Regions from separate parts of the Homo sapiens genome. Here region 2 is linked to region 1. Evidence: promoter capture Hi-C in human tissues and cell types (Jung and others, 2019). All regions are on one chromosome and are shown on one strand. Each heading gives the region's core, a stretch centred on a gene start or on the middle of the fragment in contact. The rest is flanking DNA. Distances are from core to core; before and after follow the strand shown.

Region 1 (6,028 bases), core at 2,238-4,737:
TAATCCCAGCTACTCGGGAGGCTGCGGCAGGAGAATTGTTTGAACATGGGAGGTGGAGGTTGCAGTGAGCTGAGATCGTGCCACTGCACTCCAGCCTGGGCAACAAGAGCAAGACTCCGTCTCAAAAAAAAAAAAAAAAAAAAAGAGAGACTCTAAAAATACACGTTAATATACCTCCCCCGCTCTTACCCTTCAGGAGGGGGTGTCTAGACCCCGCGGGACTCCAGCTACAAGGGACCCTGGGGAGGCCAACTCTGCCCTCTTGGCTATTCCCCAAGACTGCCCAGCACCCCCTCCACCCCTTCTCCATTCAGTGGCGAACCCTGGGGAGGCCACGTGGGAAGGAAAGAGGGCTCTAAGAGGGGAGGCCCCAGACTGGGGGAGAGGCCTGTCTGGAGCCCAGGATCACCTGGCTGTGCTGCAGAACTGGAGAAGAGAAGCTCAGCAGAAAGGAGCTGGCATGGGGCCAACAGCAGAAAAGCAGGAGGCACGCAGAAGTGACTGGGAAGCAGGAGGGTAGGCATGGACCCTGAGGCTGAGCAGGAGGTACTGAGGGGCAGAGTGGACGCTGAGCTGGGGGTAGCGAGCGAGCCCAGCTCAGCTGTGACGCCCTCTGTTTGGCCACCCAACTACCAGCTACTTGGGCTGCCCCGGGAGGAACTGGGCTTCCTCTGACATTCTGTGGCCTGCGGCCATCTGTCACACCTTCTTCTCTCTCTGCCCCTCCCTTGACTTGTGGCACCCACAGACAGGTGGGAGAGTGTACCTGCCCTGTGTGGTCAGAGCTTGGTTTTGAGTTTCCTTCCCTCACCCCTCTTTCCTCCCACACGCCAAAACACAAGAGGATGTGTCAGAGGCCTGTGAACCAGAGCAACTCCATCCTGAATAGGGGCTGAGCAAAATAAGGCTGAGACCTACTGGGCTGCGTTTCCAGACAGTTACAGCATTCTGCGTCACAGGATGAGATAGGAGATACAGGTCATAAAGACCTTGCTGATAAAATAGTTTGCAGTAGGCCAGGCGCGGTAGCTCACGCCTGTAATCCCAGCACTTTGGGAGGCTGAGGTGGGCGGATCACCTGAGGTCAGAAGTTCGAGACCAGCCTGGCCAACAAGGTGAAACCTCATCTCTACTAAAAATACAAAAACTAGCCAGGCATGGTGGTGTGTGCCTGTAATCCCAGCTACTTGGGAGGCTGAGGCAGGAGAATCGCTTGAACCCAGGAGGTGGAGGTTGCAGTGAGCTGAGATCGTGTCACTGCACTCCAGCCTGGAGCGAGACTCCGTCTCAAAAAACAAAACAAACAAAAAAATCAGCTTGCAATATAGAAGCTGGCTAAAACCCACCCAAACCAAGATGGTGATGAGAGTGACCTCTGGTCGTCCCCACTGCTACACTCCCACCAGCGCCATGACAGGTTACAGATGCCATGGCAGTATCAGGAAGTTACCATATATGGTCTAAAAAGGGGAGACATGAACAATCCACCCCTGTTTAGCAGATCATCCAGAAACAACCATAAAAATGGGCAACCAGCAGCCCTCAGGGCTGCGCTCTCTATGGAGTAGCCATTCTTTTATTCTTTTACTTTCCTAATAAATGTGCTTTCACTTTATGGACTCGTCTCAAATTCTTTCTTGCACGAGATCCAAGAACCCTCTCCTGGGGTCTGAATCTGGACCCCTTTCCGGTAACAGATGTCGTAGAGTGAAGCACAACCACTGCAGGGGCATCTTGGTTTACATTTTGCTTCAGCGGCCATGGTTAGCACAGCGGAAAGCACATCACAGTCTTCTGATTCATTAAAAAAATTAGGAAATGGACCACCACAAACCACAGACAGATGTACTGAGACAGGATAGGTAGTCAAGAAAGTGACCATGTTCTAGGCGCGCAGCAGCAACTGTGGTGACCGTACAGTCAACAAGCCTCAGCACTGGCATTGCAATTGAGCTCATTCAAGCAAAGCTATCTTCAGCAGGGACTTCTCCCTCTAGGCAGCAAGCGCATTTTTATTTTACCTGTCCTCAAACTGATCCTTTGCTCCTTATAATAGTAAGGAACACACCCCTGTGTGGAGATTTAAGATGCTAATGAGGCCAAGCGCAGTTGCTCACGTCTGTAATTCCAGCACTTTGGGAGGCAGAGGTGGGCGGGTCACTTGAGGTTAGAAGTTCGAGACCAGCCTGGCCAACATGGTGAAACCTTGTCTCTACTAAAAATACAAAAATTAGCCGGGCATGGTGGCGGGCGTCTGTAATCCCAGCTACCTGGGAGGCTGAGGCAGAAGAATCGCTTGAACCTGGGAGGCGGAGGTTGCAGTGAGCCAAGATCGTGCCACTGCACTCCAGCCTGAGGGAGAGAGAGAGCAAGACATCGTTTTTGTTTGTTTGTTTGTTTGTTTGTTTGTTTTTTAAAAAAAAGTCAAGACAAATCATAGTGGGGGCTTTTCTGGTCACTTTTTAAATCTTAGTGTTGAGACTTTATTTGAGACAGGGCCTTACTCTGTTGCCCAGGTTGGATGAGATTTTTAACCTCAATATTTACTTATAGAATAACTTTTTGGTTAGTCAAAACAATGCTGTGTCTCATTCTGATCAGAATAAAACATCAGACAACTCAAGAGAAACATTCTGCAAAATAACTGGCCAGGATTCTTCAAAAGTGTCAAGGGTAAAGATAAGGAAAGATGAAGGAACTCCCAGATTGAGGAGAATAAGGAGACAACTGTGATGTGGGATCCTAGAATGGATCTTGGAACAGAAAAAGGACATTAGTGGAAAAATGAGAAATGCAAAACAGTCTACAGTTTCGTTAACAGGATTGTACCAAGGTTAGTTTCCTAGCTGTAATGATTGGACTATGATTAAGTAAGATGGACCATCAGGGGAAGCTGGGTGAAGGGTGTAAGGAAAATGCTTACATTTTCCAACTTTTCTGCAAGTCTAAAATTAGTCAACAATAAGAAGTTTAAAATAGGCCAGGCATGGTGGCTCACACCTGTCATCCTAGCACTTTGAGAGGCCGAGGTGGGAGGATGGTTTGAGCCCAGGAGTTCAAGACCAGCCTGCGCAATAGAGCGAGACCCCAACTCTATTCAAAAAAATTTTTTTAAGTTTAAAATAGAATTATATAAAAAAGGAAAAGAAAAATGCTGTTTCATAGCGTTCCTAGTTTAGCATGGGAGAGACCAGGTCTCCCTGGGTGGTTGTCTGTGTGTTGCTGGGTGTGCGTGGCAGGGCTAGTGTGTTGGGGTCCGTCTAGGCACATTCAGGCGCCGAATCCCGTGGCTCCCAGGTTTACCTGACGGTGCAGCCTGGGGTGGAGACTTAATGAGGGCGGGGAGTTGCTGCAGCAAAGGCTCCTCCCAGGGGTATCAGCGCAGACAGCTGGGTTTTCACTGTGCTCCTGCTCCAGAGGCACTAGGAAGGGGGCGCCTATCAGACTAGGGCTCTGCCAGCCATCCTTCTCTGTTGAAGGTCCAGCATGGTCCGCTGCCTGGGGCCTGCGCTGCTGCTGCTGCTGTTACTGGGTGAGCGCCCCTCTCTTCCCCTGGACCCCGAACCCTGGCCTCTCTGTCCCTGCTCCTCAGTGACAAGGTGGGAGGGCAAGATATTCCAGGAAAAGCTGAACCACAGGAAGGGTTGCCAGTGAGAGGCCTGTGCGCACGGCTTGGGGACCCCTGGCAATTGACCCCACTATGTGCTGAGCACCTCACCTCCCAGCCCCGTCAAGCCACCACCGCCATCCCCCTCCCGAGTCCAGCCTTGGCACCCGTGCCCCAGGAACTTTTGCCTATTGTCTGCCATCTCCCAACTCTCTCACCCTCCCCTCAGCCCCAGCCCTCCTACCCATCACACAGATTCCTTGGTGAATCTTCGGTGTTGTTCATCTGTTGTTCCACCTTCTTGGACTGCTCCGTCCCTGCATGGATGTCGCGGAGGGAGGGGTCACTTTACCGAGTGTAGTGTGGAAAGTGGAATCTGGTAAAGGTTTAAGGTGGAGGAGATCTTGCAGCTGAGATGAGCTGCTGTGAGGGTGGAGACTGGGTAAGGGTGTTCTGGGCAAGGGTGACAGGTAAGCAACAGGCAGAGGTGGGTTCAAACCCTTAGGCAACATCAGGTGCTGGTGTGTGCAGCTGAGACCTGAGGATGTGCCTGGCAAGGCTGTGAGAGGAAAGCAAAGTGTGCCCTTTGGGGAGGGGAGGAAGGGAGGACTCACCCCGCTGCCATCTATCCCCTCCACTCAGGGACCATTCTAAGCCCTCGAGCTATGTTCATCCTTCCTGCAGAGGCAGGTGCTGAAGTCACAGCAGGAATCACTCTCACCACGCGGTCCAATCCACAGCCTGAAAGACACAGCCATTGCCAGAGAGGCACCCTGCTCCCAGCCCTGGGGGGGGGATACCACCCCGTAGCCCCTGTGCACAAACACACAGGGAGATGGATGAGGGGCCAGGCTGTGCACGTCCACTCAGGCTGGGCACCAGAAAGGCTTCTAGTCTGAATGAGATGCTCCAGACTGGAGAACTTGTGGAGGCTGGGGGGGATTCGATTAGCCTGGTTTTTGTGACTCAAATCCTGGGAAGGGGCTGCCAAGTCCCAACTTCCAGTTATCCTGGCTCTATTTAGACACAGCCTGTGGGCATGTGGGCAGAGCTCACCCTCTGTCTACCCAACCCCTGGTGTGTGACTGGGGTGCCAGGCACCTTCTCTGTCTCCAGCAGGGTGTCACCTATCATGGGGCCTGGTCACTAAAACCACTGATGAACCCTTGGGTCCTGTGGCTCAGGACAAAGCCCGGCGGTGTGTCGTCAGGGACTTCTCTGAATCCACACCCTGGCAGCCAGGACTCAGTGGGTTCTTCAGTGGCCAGAGCTCTTGCATGAATCCGCTCTCCCCTGGCTGATGAAGGGTGGAGGGGCTGGAGGAAGCCAGTGCAGATGGGGCAGGATGACCTCGACTCAAGGGAGCATCAGGAAGGGCTGGAGAGGGGAGACACCCATGCAGGGGGCAGGAGGAGGAGCAGGAGGTCAGGAAGGAGGGAGAAACAGAAATCAATAGACCCACCCAAAGGGTCTCCATGGTGGAGGATAAGCGGCGAGGTGGAGGGGGTAGAGGAGGAAAGGTATGGCGTCACAGCCTGTCATTAAGAGACTAGGAGCAGCCACTGTCTTCTATGCCATCTCTGGTTTTAAAGTCTCCATTGGCCAGATCCCCAGAAAGCCTCATTGTTCCCCCGTCAGGTAGTGCCATTGAGTGTAGGAGGAGCCCCTGGACCCGTCTTTGGACGTGTGTGGCCGTTCTGGAGAAATGGTGGCGATGCTTGGGAAGGAGGGGCTTCAGCTTTTGGGGAAGGCCTGGCTCAGCCTCCATGCTCCCTCTCCATCCCTGACGTGTTGCAGAGCCCTCCAGAGCCCGCCGCTGCCCATCCCCACGACGGAGAGCCGATCAGTGCCAGTCGGCCCCGCCTTTGGGCCACACTCTATGCTTTCTCGGGTTTTCAGTGTCCCCCACCTTCCAGGGGCGTGGATGGGCTGGGTGAAGTGTGCATGCGGGGCGCACTGAGACCTGCAGCCTCCCCGCGCCTTTCCCAGGGTCGGCGAGCTCGGTCGGAGGGAACCGATGTGTGGACGCGGCCGAAGCCTGCACGGCGGACGCGCGGTGCCAGCGTTTGCGCTCCGAGTATGTGGCGCAGTGCCTGGGCCGGGCTGCGCAGGGGGGCTGTCCCCGCGCCCGCTGCCGCCGGGCCCTGCGCCGCTTCTTCGCCCGCGGGCCGCCCGCGCTCACCCACGCACTGCTCTTCTGCCCGTGCGCGGGCCCCGCGTGCGCCGAGCGTCGGCGCCAGACCTTCGTGCCCTCCTGCGCCTTTTCGGGGCCCGGCCCCGCGCCGCCCTCCTGCCTTGAGCCCTTAAACTTCTGCGAGCGCAGCCGGGTCTGCAGGTGCGCGCGGGCGGCGGCGGGGCCGTGGCGAGGGTGGGGACGGGGCCTCTCTCCGGCTCACCGCCCTCCCGCCGCGCAGGCCTCGC
Region 2 (5,786 bases), core at 905-3,404, 190 kb after region 1:
AGAGCAGGACTGTGCCTGTCTTGTATACCACTGTATCTCACAACCTAAAACATAGGAGCCCTCAACAAATACATGTAGGTTAATGGAATTCATAAATCAGAACACCCTAAGTTACAAAAGCAGCTTCACTGCATCAGTGGTCCTGAAGTAACTTGGTTTCTCCATCCATAAAACTAAAGAGCTCATCTGCTCAACGTTCTCTGAGTTCCTCAGAAGACCTAATATTACCTAAGTCTACAATTTTGCTATTCCAAACTCCTCTCTCACAACTCTCTTCCACATAGGCAGCAGCAAAACTTTACTTTCCAGCCTCCACAACTTTGTTTGCACCCTTCTTTCCATCTGTAATTTTTTTCCAGCTCCACATTTCCAAATCCTACTTAACCTTACATGCTCAAATCCAATGTTACCGCCTCCTCAAAGTCCTCCTTGCATCCCTCCAGCTAGCCACAACCTCTCCATCCCTGAATTCCCACAAGTTCCCTGTTGCCTCATTCAGGTCTCAGATCAAATGTCATTTCAAATGAGAACCCTCTCCAAGAGTCACCACCGGTTATAATTCTCTATCAGACCACGCTGTTTTTATTTTCTTGATAGCATTTACCATTACCTGAAATTACCATGTTTATTTCTCTCATTTATTTACTTGTTAAGTGCCTGTTGCTCCCACTAGAATGTTAAGGTCAATGAGAGCAGAGGCCCTGTCTGTCTTGTTCACATTTCCCCACTCCCCCACATCAGACATGTGTTCAGTAAGCTAAATACCTGTCAAAGGCGTGAATGACTCTGTAACCCTTATGACTAGGGTTATGTGCGCACATTATCTTTCTCTTGCTATATTCCAAACTCCCTGTGGACAAGGCCAAAGTCTGGCTAATCTGTCTGTATTATCTGGAAAATCATTGCACAACTGAAGCAAATAACGATAACTGCTAATTAATTTATTGATTTCTCCAAGAGGAACTGCCCCAAACTAAGCCAATTCAGAACTTCATATTGTCCAGAAACCAAGGCAAATAGGAATCTCCTTCCATTCCCTCTTCACCACAGACCCTATTCCAATTTGCCACCTCCAGGGAGCTTTTGCCAAAAGGCTAGTTTCCTCACTTTCCTTTAGAAGGACCACTGGTCCTTCTATCCCTAATATCTTACAATGCTACCCTTTCCCTTTTATCTCCAGCCAACAAAGCATTTCCAGGGCCCTGTTTCTTCAGAGCACCCCACATCTCCAGTGCATCGGGGAACTCATCGGGTCCTAGGGCACATGTGGATGTTAAAAGGAAGTGTTCAAGCAAACCTGGCTCGACCACCTTTCCTTGGATACCTCGTTTAGCTGAAACACGCCGAGTTTTAGAGCGATCGGCTTTGATGCTCTTTGGGTCCCTCAGCATTCTTCCCATCTAACTAACCTAAGCACCCAAATACCGTCGGGGTGCCCCCACCCTTGCCCCACACCTTTTCACCTTCCAACAGAGAAAGACCCCAGGCCAGAGACGATGATCTCCCCGGAAGCAAATGGCCCTCAAACCCCATAGGGCGGCCCTACCCTCTCCACTTTCTGTCCAGCATCTCCCTCTGACCTGGAGCCGTCTCGAACGCCCCTCAGCCCCAGCCTCTGGTTGGACCCGACCCTCCGACACCACCCGCCACTCACCTGAAGCGGCCCCCGCAGTGCTGGCATTGCTCGCCCACCCAGCCGGCGGGGCAGACGCACTGGCCGGTGCCAGGGTTGCAGCGACCGCCGTTGACACAGGGCCGGTCACATTCCTTGGCCTCGGCTGCGGCTGAGCCCGACACCGCCGCCGCCGCCGCCGCGGCCTCGGCCTCACAGGGCAGCAGCAGCAGCAGCAGCGGCGGCGAGAGCAACAACAGCAGCAGCAGCAGCCGTGGCCGCAGCGGTGGAGACAGCAGCCGCGGGAGGCGCAGCCCGGCCCCCAGCCCCGGCCTCCCAGCCCTGGTCACGTCCCAGTCCCAGTGCGGCCCGCCGCTCCTGCCCGCGAGCGCTGCCGTCGCCGCCGTCCTCCTCCTCAGCCTTGCCTCAGTTGCCGCCGCTGCAGCCACCATCTTCCCGGGGCTGAGACGGCGCCCCGCGAACACATACACACACACCGCACGGCCGGCTCCGCTTCGCCTGGCCGTGCGGGGCGGGGCTGTGCGGACGGTGGCTCGTGCGGTCCAAAGGGGCCACAGCGGGGCGGTGGGCGGGGCCGGCGCGCGCGTGCGCGAGTACGTGGGTGCGTGCGTGCGGGGGCGCAGACAGTGGTCTCCGGCGTCCGCGGCGCCGGAGGCGATCTTCTGACGTGGACCGTAGAACGAGCTGAAACCCGGCTGCGCTGTCCCGGCCGGCGAAAGCTCTAGTTTTCCCCCTTCGCCTTTCGTCCCCGGCGGCGGGGTTGCAGCCCCACTGGATGCCTAGGAGCCGACTGCGTTGAGTGTTGCCCTCCTAGAGACCCGGCACTCTGCCCTAACTCCAGCTGCCGGACGGAAAGGGTACAGGAGGCTGCATCGCAGCGAGGTGCTGGGTGCGGTACTGTAGAAGCCAGGCTTCATTCGAGCCTCTGTAACACAAGAGTCAAGAAAGAACACATGTAGAACCTGGCATAGGCCGGGCGCGGAGGCTTACGCCTGTAATCCCAGCACTTTGGGAAACTGAGGCAGGCGGATCACTTGATCTCTGGGATCCGAGACCAGCCTGGCCAACAGGGTGAGACACTGTCTCTACTAAAAATACAAAAATTAGCCGAGCATGGTGGTGCGCGCCTGTATCCCCAGCTACTCCAGAGGCTGAGGCAGGAGGATCGCTTGAGTCTGGAGAGGTCAAGGCTGCAGTGAGCCGCAGTCGCAGCACTGCACTCCAGCCTGGGCAACACAAGACCCTGTGTCAAAAAATGAAGAACCTGGCATGTAGGCTGTGCTCAGTAAATGCCTAATAAACTGAATGAAGACACACAGCCAGGCCTCTTGATAACAGATGGACTGTAGCTGACCAGACCCCCTACCTTTAATTCTGTAAAAGTTTGGAGTTACCTTGCTCCCCACAATTTGCCCTCCAACCATCTTCTCTGAAGAGTGGGCAATATAGAATTAGGAAATGGCGCTCACACAGACCTGCCCCTTCTTGTCTGGTAGTTGTTACTCTGGTGTCCCTCAATGAGACATGTCTTCCATCAATGTAGCCTTTTATGGTCCTTGACCCTGGAATCTGGGCTGGGTCATGATTGAGACCATGAGAAACCATGACTCAATTTCACCAATAGAAGAAGTTGGTAGGAGTAGCAATGTCTTGTTTCTAGCTCTGAGCTTAAAAAAGACCTGGCAGCCTTGGCCGGGCACGGTGGCTCACGTCTGTAATCCCAGCACCTTGGGAGGCCGAGGCGGGCAGATCACGAGGTCAGAAGTTCGAGACCACCCTGATCGACGTGGTGAAACCCTGTCTCTACAAAAAATACAAAAATTAGCCGGGCGTGGTGGCACACACCTGTAATCCCAGCTACTCAGGAGAGTCGCTTGAATCCAGGAGGCAGAGGTTGCAGAGAGTCGTGATCGCGCCACTGCACTCCAGCCTGGGGGACAGAGCGAGACTCTGTCTCAAAAAAAAAAAAAGACCTGGCAGCCTTGATTTTGAGCTGTTGGTGGTCATGAGCTGCACCCCGTTAGCCACCTTGCTGGAGAGAAACCATGTGCAGAGACCACTTGGACTTGGAGAGGGAGAGCTGGGCCGCTCAGCTGGTGGAGCCATCCTAGCTAAGGGATCAGTCATTGAGTGAAGAAGCTATCTGGGTTGGGTTATTCCAACCGTCTGGGCTGTTCCATGTTACCTACAACAGTAACAGGTCTTTCCTAACTGTGACTTATCCAAAATCCTAAGAAATAACTCATTTATCATTTAACCCTTAAGTGATGAATTATTTATAATTTTTCATAAATTATGATTTATGTTATTTTAAGCCTCTAAGTTTTAGAGAGGTTTGTTACTCAGTAATAGATAAGCAGAACATTGTCCGACATAATGCTTGTGCTATGAGGAATATTCCTATGGCACCTACCTCAGAATCTGGGCACCTTACAGTCCCTGGGAAACAAAGAAAAACCCTCATAGACCTGTGGAGCCTCTCAGCTTTACCTCAGAGTATGGAATTTTAAGGTTCTAAGATGGATTTCCACACTCATACCCAGGTCCCACTCTCATACTCAGGTCCTGACTGTCCTCACTGCATCTTCTTCAAGCCTGGTGAAGCTGAATTGCACAAAAGCCTTACCCCCAGCTCTACATCCACACATACTCCCCATTCCTACAGGAAAACTATTGTTCGGCCTAGGCCCTAGCACTGACATTCTGGTTTGCAGGTTATGTTTTTGCCATGTAGGATTTTGAAATTGAAGACATGGCCCTACCCTCTGGCAGGACCCCATCAGATGGGGAGGCTGGCATAGGCCATGCCCTAGCTGTAGGAGACATTGCTCCCCCTAATCTTCCAGGCCAGAAGTGAACCAGCCCTTTCCTTCCCTTCCCTCCCCACAGCAAGACTGAACCCACACTGTGAAGTTTCACATGATTTTACCAACATTCAGGGATAACAGAAAAGGTGTGCATCTGAAGAACAGCAATCCCTAGACTAGATATTGCTACTCTGAAGCCTTAGAATCTTGCTGCAGCAAACATTCTTTCTTACTTCCTTAATCTACTCTCTTCTCTGGTTCTTTTTCCTTAGCTTTCAAACATGCTCAAATTATTTTGTCCTTAAAAAACAAACACGCTGGGTGCAGTGGCTCATGCCTGTAATCCCAGTGCTTTGGGAGGCCAAGGTGGGAGGATCACCTGAGGCCAGGAGTTTGAGACCAGCCTGGACAACATAGTGAGACCTTGTCTCTACAAAAAATTTTTTAAAAAATTAGTCAGATGTGGTGGCGTGCATGTGTAGTCCCAGCTACTTGGGAGGCTGGGGCAGGGGGATCACAGAGCCCAGGAGTTTGAGGCTGCAGTAAGCTATGTTTGGACCACTGCACTCCAGCCTGGGCAACAGATCAAGACCCTGTCTCTAAAAACAAATAAACAAAGAAACAAAATCTTACCTGCTATCTTCTTTTTCCTTTACTGCGTTTATCAAAAAGTCCCCTACACATTCTATGTCTGTGTGATAGATTAAAGATGGCTGCAAATTCTCTTACATTCCTTCTATGGAGAGATCAGGTCTAACCCTTGGCCCCGGCCCCACCCCCACCCCCACCCCCACCCCACTCTGAATCTAGCCTGGCCTTAGTGATTTGCTTGACTGATAGACTATGGTGGAAGTGATGTACTGGGATTTCTGAGGTCCCAGAAATGGGACTTTATGCTAGGTCATAAGAAGTCTTGCAGCTTCCTCCTGAAGTGTCTTGGAACACTTGCCATAAAAGATGTCCAGCTACCCTGAGACCACCATGCTGTGAGGAAGCCAGCCCCCAGCCATTCAAGTCTTCCCAGTTGGGGCCCCAATCATGAAGCAGGGGGGTGTTGTTCCTGCTGAACCCGCCCCAAACTGCAGATACATAAGCAAATAAATGAGCCAACTGGGGACAGTTCGTTACACAATAATAAATTACCAGAATACTCTGTACCCTGGTTCCTCCAAGGACAAGAATAAGTCTTGTGATGTGGACTTGATTAAGAATTAAGAACGACAGTATAATTGTATATAAATGTATAATCTACAACTAGTCATCTATATGTAATACACTAGTATCATTGTCCAGTTGCTTCTCATGAAGGAGGTCACCGTAGTCACCGTAGCTTCAGAAGTGCCTCT

What was found. Contacts are between HindIII fragments. The study calls those that stand out against the background at their distance.
Region 2: a contact is called between the fragment with the promoter of ATRN here and the fragment with the promoter of GFRA4 in region 1, in 1 of the 25 tissues and cell types used here (liver).

What each region holds. Positions count from the first base shown.
Region 1 is chr20:3,660,858-3,666,885 of GRCh38, reverse strand. GFRA4 (GDNF family receptor alpha 4) reads left to right here and starts at 3,487. Exons shown (of 6, transcript NM_022139.4): 1 at 3,487-3,532; 2 at 5,597-5,942; 3 at 6,022-6,028. The coding sequence starts at 3,487. RefSeq lists a silencer at 5,862-5,971. The HindIII fragment of the contact is 25,120 bases long and covers 1-6,028 here.
Region 2 is chr20:3,467,386-3,473,171 of GRCh38, reverse strand. It overlaps ATRN (attractin), which reads right to left and starts at 2,154. Exons shown (of 29, transcript NM_139321.3): 1 at 1,655-2,154. The coding sequence starts at 2,064. RefSeq lists a silencer at 1,768-2,327 and an enhancer at 2,428-2,567. The HindIII fragment of the contact is 27,188 bases long and covers 1-5,786 here.